2 separate regions of the Homo sapiens genome follow, and region 1 is linked to region 2. Evidence: promoter capture Hi-C in 16 types of primary human blood cells and fetal thymus (Javierre and others, 2016). All regions are on one chromosome and are shown on one strand. The core of a region is centred on a gene start or on the middle of the fragment in contact, and the rest is flanking DNA. Distances in the headings are between cores, read along the strand shown.

Region 1 (4,309 bases), core at 17-2,516, 260 kb before region 2:
TACAGAAGTAAAACATACTTCTTTGTAAATGACCAATTCTGGAGGTAACGTAAACTATTTTTTCAATTATAGGTTGAAATCTGTGTTTCTCTACCCTGCTTACAAACCTTCAAGCATTTCAAGGTTTAAAACAATCTAGATAGTCTCTAATAGGTTTTACCGAGAATATATTCTTTTTTACAGGATGATTGATGTTACCATGGCTTTTGAAATTTTTCATTTCTATAAAATTAAAATGTCTATGCAATAGTATTGAGGATTCTGCATCAAGAAACAAAGAAAACCTTAACAAAGCACTAGGGTGAGATACAAAGAAAGATTTAAGCTAATTCTCACTTATGAGTTCAACTCAGACATATGCAAGCAAATGTTATCCAGATAGCCTGCAGAATTTGGTTCCCAAGTTGAACCTATTATGTATGTTTATATATCTATATACACACACAAGGGAGTTATACTATATACCAATTAAGTAAAAGCCTTGAAAATATAAGCTTACTTTGGGTAATAACAGTGTGTCAGCCATCAAGCCTGTTTTAGAATTAATGATAACCATATGTTTTATAAATGTGTACCCTTAGGTAGAGAAATTAACCATTCTTAATCCTAGTAAACAGGGCATTGTGAGAACTGAATGAAAAAATATGTGTGAGGAGACTTTGTAAATTATATACAATAAAAAAAATTTTTTTCGTTATATTCTGTATTGGTGTTAAATCGGATAACATTTTGTTTTTACCAGATATGATAACCAAAGACAATTCATGGAGCCAGGTTATCCCAAAAGCATATCAGGTGCCTTTCCAGGAATAGAGAGTAAAGTTGATGCAGTTTTCCAGCAAGAACGTAAGTAGGAAAAAAAAACCTAATAAATGTGTTGTTTGTTTGTTTATTATAGAGGAGACAGGGTCTTACTATGCTGACCAGGTTAGTGTCAAACTCCTGGCCTCAAGCAATCCTCCCACCTCAGCCTCCCAGAGTTCTGGGATTACAGGCATTAGCCACCGCACCTGGTGTTTAAATTTTTTAAATAGCATGTTTGCATTTGAATGTTATGTTGGAACAGGGGCAGGGTTTTCTAACTGAAGACATCTGAGATATTCTATAAGCTAATTCAATAAATTATCTCTCTTTTTTTATAGATTTCTTCCATGTCTTCAGTGGACCAAGATATTACGCATTTGATCTTATTGCTCAGAGAGTTACCAGAGTTGCAAGAGGCAATAAATGGCTTAACTGTAGATATGGCTGAAGCAAAATCAAATGTGGCTGTATCCACTTTCAGAATGTTGAAGGGAAGTTCAGCAAGCATTTTCGTTACATTGTGTCCTGCTTATACTTTTCTCAATATTAAGTCATTGTTTCCCATCACTGTATCCATTCTACCTGTCCTCCGTGAAAATATGTTTGGAATATTCCACTATTTGCAGAGGCTTATTCAGTTCTTACACATTCCATCTTACATTAGTGATTCCATCAAAGAGAAGGAAAGTAAGCCTTTTTGTCACCTCAATATTTACTATTTCAATACTTACATATCTGACTTCTAGGATTTATTGTTATATTACTTGCCTATCTGACTTCATACATCCCTCAGTTTCTTAAAATGTCCTATGTATATCTTCTACATGCAATTTAGAACTAGATTTTGGTTAGAAGTAAGGATTATAAACAACCTAGACAGTACCCTTGGCCTTTACAGAAAATATGGTGCTGTTTTCTACCCTTGGAAAGAAATGTAGATGATATGTTTCGTGGGTTGAATTGTGTCCCCCATAAAAGATATGTTGAAGTTCTAACCCCAGGTACCCATGAATGTGAGCTTACCAGGGTCTTTGCAGATGTAATTAGTTAAGTTAAGGTGAGATCACACTGAATTAGGGTGGGCTCTAAATCCATTATGACTGTTGTTCTTATAAGAAGAAGAGAGGCATAGTCACCTAGGGGAGGAGGCCGTATGAAGACAGAGGCAGAGATTGGAGTGACGCATCTCCAAGCCAAGGAATTCCAAGGACTGTAAGCCACCAGTAGAAGCTTTGAAGAGGCAAGGAAGGATTCCCTCCAATAGCCTTCAAGTGTGACCCTGCTGACACCTGCAGAATTCGGACTTCTATCCTCCAAAACCGTGAGGGAATAAATTTCCTTTGTTTTAAGCCACCAACTTTGCAATACTTTGTTACAGCAACCCTAGACATGAGGTACTAGACACAGTACATCTACACATATGAAAATGAATCAACACAGAATGCAGAAGTAGAACCCTTGCTAAGGACTACTGGGCATCTTCCCAGGACAGCAGCCAAAAGAGAACCACCACTTCCTCTCCTGCCTCCTCCTTGCTCTCTCCTAGAGTCCAAACCCAAATGGGCCAGTTGGATCTGATGTTCGTCAGTTCTTTACTTCTATTTCCTGGGGTACTCAGGAGGGCACACACTATAGATAACTTGGGTTAGCTGCATAAAATTCAATGTCTCATTAAGTTGCATTAAACTGAGCTTAGATGTGTAAGTTTGCTAACGGATGGGTTTTTTTGTTAAGAACTATAGGATTTATGGGACCAAGTCTAGCGAGTCCAGATATCAAAATCATTATAATGTTATATTTGCTGTTATTAGAATATAATATAGCTTATTATACAATAAATATGTAGACTGTAAAATATATTTCTCACTAGTACCTCCTATTTTCTTTCTCTGTTGAAGTTTTTAAATCCCACAGATAATTAAATTGGCACCTTTATGCTTGTTCAAAAATTAAAATAATCTATTAAATAAGTTCAAATTAAAGATTTTTACTTCAAATGACTGATTTGTGATTTGCTTTTAATTTCTTAAAATGTTACCACATAATTCATCTAAAGTATAAAAAGGAATAGCAAATTTTAGATGTTGTGCAGATATATAATGCTTGTGTCAGAATTATTATAATATTGATAATAAACTTTAGATATTGCTTCAGAGTGTGTGAAATATTTTATAAATATTTGAGGTCCTCAAAAATTTCCTCAAGTATGTTAATACATTATTCTCAAATTATTTTACAAAATAAGAAAACTGAAACAAGTATATATTATCATTCCATTCATTGATTTATTCAGCAAGAATTAACTACCTACCTACTATTAATTATGTTTCAGGGACTGTGCTAAGAAAAGTGAGAGAGATGTATAAGCGATTCATCATATCAACGTAACAAATGCAAAAGGATCTATAAGAATTGAATATTCCATTTTTAATAGTAGCATCAATTTCAGACTATCATGTTTCCTAAAACTTTCTATAATGCCAGTTATGAAAGTTTTAGGAAAATGCAGGCATGAAAATGAGTGTCTTATCTTCTCAGAACACCTGCTAGTTGTGCTGGCTATGATAGACTCTTGGCTCAAACCTCATCTATACATCTTTGAGATGAGGACTGATCTCATACTATTTTTTAACCACATTTGACAGAGTCATAGACAGTAAACTGTAATATGAAGTGTAATAAAGAATTCAGAGTTATTCCTTTTAAAAAAATTATCTTGTTGACAACATGTAGTATTTTCCAGCTATTACATTGATATTTTGAATGGGCACAAGAGATATAAAGACCTAAGCTTAGAATGCATTTATTTATTTTTTGTTTATTTATTTATTTTTGAGACAGGGTCTTGCTCTGTCACCCAGGCTGGTGTACAGTGGTGCAATCACAACTCACTGCAGCCTCAAACCCCTGGCCTCAAGCAATGCCCCACCTTAGCCTTTCAAGTATTTGGGACTACAGGCACACACCACCACACTCAGTTATTTTCTTTTGTAAAGGTGGGGTCCCACTACATTTCCCAGGCTTGTCTCAAACTCCTGGGCTCAAGTGATCCTCCTGCCTCGGCCTCCCAAAGCGCTGGGATTACAGGCTTGAGCCACCATGCCACCCTGCCTAAGCTAGAATTTAAACAATGAGATTCATGTTTATCTTAGGTTGAGATTCTTCAAAAGCAAAGCCTAAGTCAAGACATTGGTGCAATTATATTTTCAGGACACAGTCCCAGGAAGCAAGAGTGAGGTAGCAAGAAGAGTGAGTCAAAGAATGAGGAAAAGCCAATACAATTATGTGTTATCAAGGTTTCTGCTATGGGCAATTGAAGCTCAATTCCACCAGGGGCCTCTGAGAAGCCTGCAGACCAGCTTCCAGTCGTTCACATCTCCAGTGAGCAGGAGGCTGGAACATTCATCCTTCAGTTTCCATTCCCCATTGGATGAGGATGTTCCCTGAGAGTGTTAACTTCTTTACACTTCCAGGCTGTACTGTCATGCTGACCTGGAAGGCTTGA
Region 2 (4,183 bases), core at 1,205-3,704:
CAACTTCTCTGGGAGGCTAGTCCTCCCAATAGAGTTTCCAAGAGAGCAGGAAGGCCACACAGTTCCTTGCTCTTTCCCCTCTCCTCAGACTAGAAAAAACATGGGCAATCCACAGTACTGAGCTGTTAGTATCAAAGATGGGCACACCCACTCACTGTGGTGTGGCAATCAGATAGCAGAGATCTGAAGGTGTCTCCAACAGGTCAGTACCCGGGAAAAACTGTCCAAGTAAATAAATATCTTGTTCTCCACACTGTCTTAGTCCGTTTCTGCTGCTATAACACAAATACCTTAAATGGGATACTTTATCAACAAATTTATAAACAATAGAAATCTATTTGTCCCAGTTCTGGAGGCTGGGAAGTTGACAGAGCAAGGCCTCAACAGATTTGGTGTCTGGTGAGGGCCCTCTGCCTCACAGATGGCGTCTTCCTGCTGTGCCCTCACAGTACAGAAGGGTGAAACAAGTTCCCTCAGGCCTCCTTTACAAGGGCACTAATCCCATTCATTAGCAACCAAATCACCTCCGGAAAGCCTCACATCTTTTTTTTTTTCTCTTGAGACAAGTCTCACTCTGTCTCCCAGGCTGGAGTGCAGTGGCGTGATCTCGGCTCACTGTAACCTCCACCTCCCAGGTTCAAGCGATTCCTGTGCCTCAGCCTCCCAGCTACTCGGGAGCCTCCCGAGTAGCTGGGATTATAGGCACGTCCCACCACGCCCAGATAATTGTATTTTTAGTAGAGGCGGGGTTTCACCATGTTGGTCAGGCTGGTCTTCAACTCCTGACCTCAAACGATCTACCCTTCTCAGCCTCCCAAAGTGCTGGGATTACAGGCATGAGCCACTATGCCCACCCAAGTCCCACATCTTATTATCATCACCTTGAGGATTAGGTTTCAACACATGAATGTGGTGGGGATATAAACATCCAGACCTCTTATTCCACCCCAGATTCCCAGGCTATAAGTACACTGAGCCTTAAAGGAAGTATTAGCTGTGGGTTGGTGAAGAGAATTCCAGAAGGAAAGAACAACGTATGCAAATGCCAGGAACCAGAAAGCACCCTTCTCCATGGGCAACAGAACCAAGGCTGGAAAGACAGGTTGGGCCTAGATTGGGAAATGCTTGGATAATGGGGTAGTCACCAGAACGGTTTATTCCTAAACCAGATTCCCCAGTTAAATAGAATAACCAAAATCGAAATGTGCAATGCTTGCTTTTTGTCCATGATAAGCTGCAGGGGAAACATTTGCAGGTTGGCTGACTGAATCCACAGATGGAAGTCTCTGTAAATTTAGGACAGATTGTCTCAGTTAATCTCTAGGACCAGTCAGACCTCTGTAATGATGGATTTGCCTGACATGAGAAAGTTCTACCTCTCATAACACAGTTTTCAAAAGTTAACTGCAATGTGGCCTTTATGTGATGAAATCTGGCTCAGGTGCCAAAGATCTGCAACATTAAGACCTTTGCAGGTGGGGATTCACTGTGATTTTAGGTTCCTTGGATCCTTCAGTCTTCTACTTCAGCTGAGGGTTCCCACCCAAGCCAGGACTCAGCCTTTGTTATTCTCATGCATTAGCCACAGGTAGCTATGTCACTTCAGAGTTCTGAGCACGATGAAAATGCAGACTTTACAAGCACTTCAAGTCAAGACAAGTGATTAGCATTGGCTCCAAGGGTTTAAAAGGAACTCAGCCAAAAACTGTTCAAAACTGGCCATTTCATCTGAACTGGGACAGCAGGGCACAAGGAGAGAAAAGGCTGGTTGGATTAATGCAGCCCCCGCTTTCCATGGCTCTACTGTATTTCACTGAGAGTTGCTACCAACTCCTGCGCGCGCCCCCACCCGCCCACTCCACTAATCTCGTGTCTTAATCAGAGATACAGGGAACCCGTGGAGAAGATGAAGTACAACTGGGATAAGAAGATCGTAGGTGTTTTACGTTTGAATTTAAGCAACAAATCTGTCGAGCTGTTTTTCTCCACTTCCCCCTTAGGCTGGGTCACGCGAGGGGAAAGCTCCGACCGCCCAGGACTCCTTAGAGTGAATCCCATCCCCTCAAGTTCCTCTCCAGAATCTCCCCCTCCTCCCGCCTTTGCCCTGCAACTCCTCCCTCTCACTCTGAGTCGCACGCACCCCTGTCCCCTCCCTGCCCGCAAAACTACTCTTCAAAGGCTTCCTTCCGGGCACCGCGAAGCCAGCGTGCTCAGCATTCAGGGAGGCAGCGGCGCTCGCCTTCATCCAGGACAACAAAACTGCCATTTCCGAAGAGAAAGGAAACGGCTCGCGGTTTCTGGGGTTCCCAAGCGCGCGCCTGCGAGGGAGGCCGCGAGCCGAGTCGCCACGCCCAGAACCCCGAGCCCGCCCCCGCGCCACCCAGCCCGGCCCCGCCGCCCCGGCTGCGCACGCGACGCCCCCTCCAGGCCCCGCTCCTGCGCCCTATTTGGTCATTCGGGGGGCAAGCGGCGGGAGGGGAAACGTGCGCGGCCGAAGGGGAAGCGGAGCCGGCGCCGGCTGCGCAGAGGAGCCGCTCTCGCCGCCGCCACCTCGGCTGGGAGCCCACGAGGCTGCCGCATCCTGCCCTCGGAACAATGGGACTCGGCGCGCGAGGTGCTTGGGCCGCGCTGCTCCTGGGGACGCTGCAGGTGCTAGCGCTGCTGGGGGCCGCCCATGAAAGCGCAGCCATGGCGGGTAAGTGGCTGCGGGGGTCGTCAGCCCCGTTCGTGGGAGGCAGCGCGCTGCCGAGGCTTGGGTTCCCAAGTTGGGCTCTGGTACAGAAAGTTCCGCGTGTGTCTGGCCGAACGCTCGGGGCGGACCCAGAGGTGACCGGGCGGGGTGGGGGAAACTGAGGTTTGGACCAGTCACCCGCTGGCCCCGGGGCCGCCTGCTGAGGAAATTGCCTGGTGCTTCCCCTCTCGCTTTTTGGATGCGGCGGTCGCAGGCCGGGACGGGTGCGCATAACCTGTTGAGTTACCGCAAGTTGGTTTTTACAGCCTTTCCCTGAAGTTAATGTTTGCCGAGGTTAGAGTTTCTAAGGCTTCCGTTTGTAAACAAGATTAGCTGAGTTGAAAAATATGTCTACCTAGGCCCGCGGAAACGTCTCCCAGTTAGTCGGGGAGCTTTTCAAGCGTCCCCCAGGCATTTCAGCGTCTAATATTATGCAGTATTATCCAGATGAATTACAATCTTTAGGTCCCCCTGACGCTCGAAGTTAGACTTCGGGGCTCTTGGAGCTAGTTGGGAGCTTTTGGGGAGCGCGCCCCGCCCTCGCGGTAGTTGAGGCGGCCGCCCCCATGGCGGGGCGCTCTCCACCCCTCGTGTGCCATAAACACCCGGCCGAGGCGCGCGGCAGCTGCGCAGCGTTAAGGGCACAGCTGCACGGTCGCCGGTGGCCCTTGTCGTCGCTAGTAAGGTCGTAACAGGATGATGTTGACTTTGCTTTTCTGTGTAGGGCGGAATTTGTTTCGTTTTAGGCCCTTGGCCCTTTGGAGACTTCAAACAGCCCTTTTTGGATGAAACCAGGAAGTTGGGATTTGTTGTGTAAATACTGTTTTCCTTTGTCAACTGTTAGAGAAGTCAGGTCCCTAGGTAATGGTCAGTAAACTAGGATAAGTTAAGTAACCCAAGGTTTTCATGGTTTTAAGTTCTATCCATCCACTGTATATGTTAGCCTTAGGTTCGTTTTATCCAGCAAAAGAAAAAGGCAGTTTGTAAATCTGGAAGGTTCAGGCACAACACTTGCTTTTTCTGGAATAACCTGGGTGAATTAACAATTTTTCTTTGTTTTGCTGAAGTTTTTTTGTTTGCTTAATTGTGCGTGTGACAAACTGGCTTCGCAGACCTAATTTTGAGATCATTTAAGAAAAAAAGTGGTAAAATCATGTCCATCGTGTATCTTGGTCCTAATTTTATACCAATTATCTCATGAGGTGAGGTCTCCATTTTTAAAAATTTGTTGCTGTGTTTGTGAAGATAAGCCTTACTGTTTCAATGAATTACCGATTAGAGAAACTGTGAGTGACCATGCTTTTCTTTCTTTTGCCCTGATAACACAGATTTTTTTTGCCCTATTTTAGCACTGTTTGTTCTGTTTATTACTTAATGTCTTACTAGAGGTTAGTCCCATTTGCAAAACTTGAAATGCTCTACAGTAGGCGAGCCCTGAATTCATAAACTAGT

What was found. Contacts are between HindIII fragments. The CHiCAGO score rates a contact against its expected background, and 5 or more counts as called.
Region 1: a contact is called between a fragment that was not itself captured here and the fragment with the promoter of TMEM123 in region 2, in 5 of 17 cell types (monocytes, M1 macrophages, M0 macrophages and 2 more). The highest score is 10.4, in monocytes.

The regions. Positions count from the first base shown.
Region 1 is chr11:102,710,291-102,714,599 of GRCh38, reverse strand. MMP8 (matrix metallopeptidase 8) reads left to right here. Exons shown (of 10, transcript NM_002424.3): 8 at 1-44; 9 at 743-846; 10 at 1,143-2,804. The coding sequence ends at 1,252. Among named protein-coding and RNA genes, the nearest start is that of MMP27, 6.7 kb to the right of the region's middle. The HindIII fragment of the contact is 1,540 bases long and covers 497-2,036 here.
Region 2 is chr11:102,451,036-102,455,218 of GRCh38, reverse strand. It overlaps TMEM123 (transmembrane protein 123), which reads left to right and starts at 2,454. Exons shown (of 5, transcript NM_052932.3): 1 at 2,454-2,695. The coding sequence starts at 2,596. It overlaps TMEM123-DT (TMEM123 divergent transcript), which reads right to left and starts at 2,300. Exons shown (of 2, transcript NR_135053.1): 1 at 2,170-2,300. RefSeq lists enhancers at 2,091-2,200, 2,931-3,220, 3,401-3,450 and a silencer at 2,321-2,610. The HindIII fragment of the contact is 13,483 bases long and covers 1-4,183 here.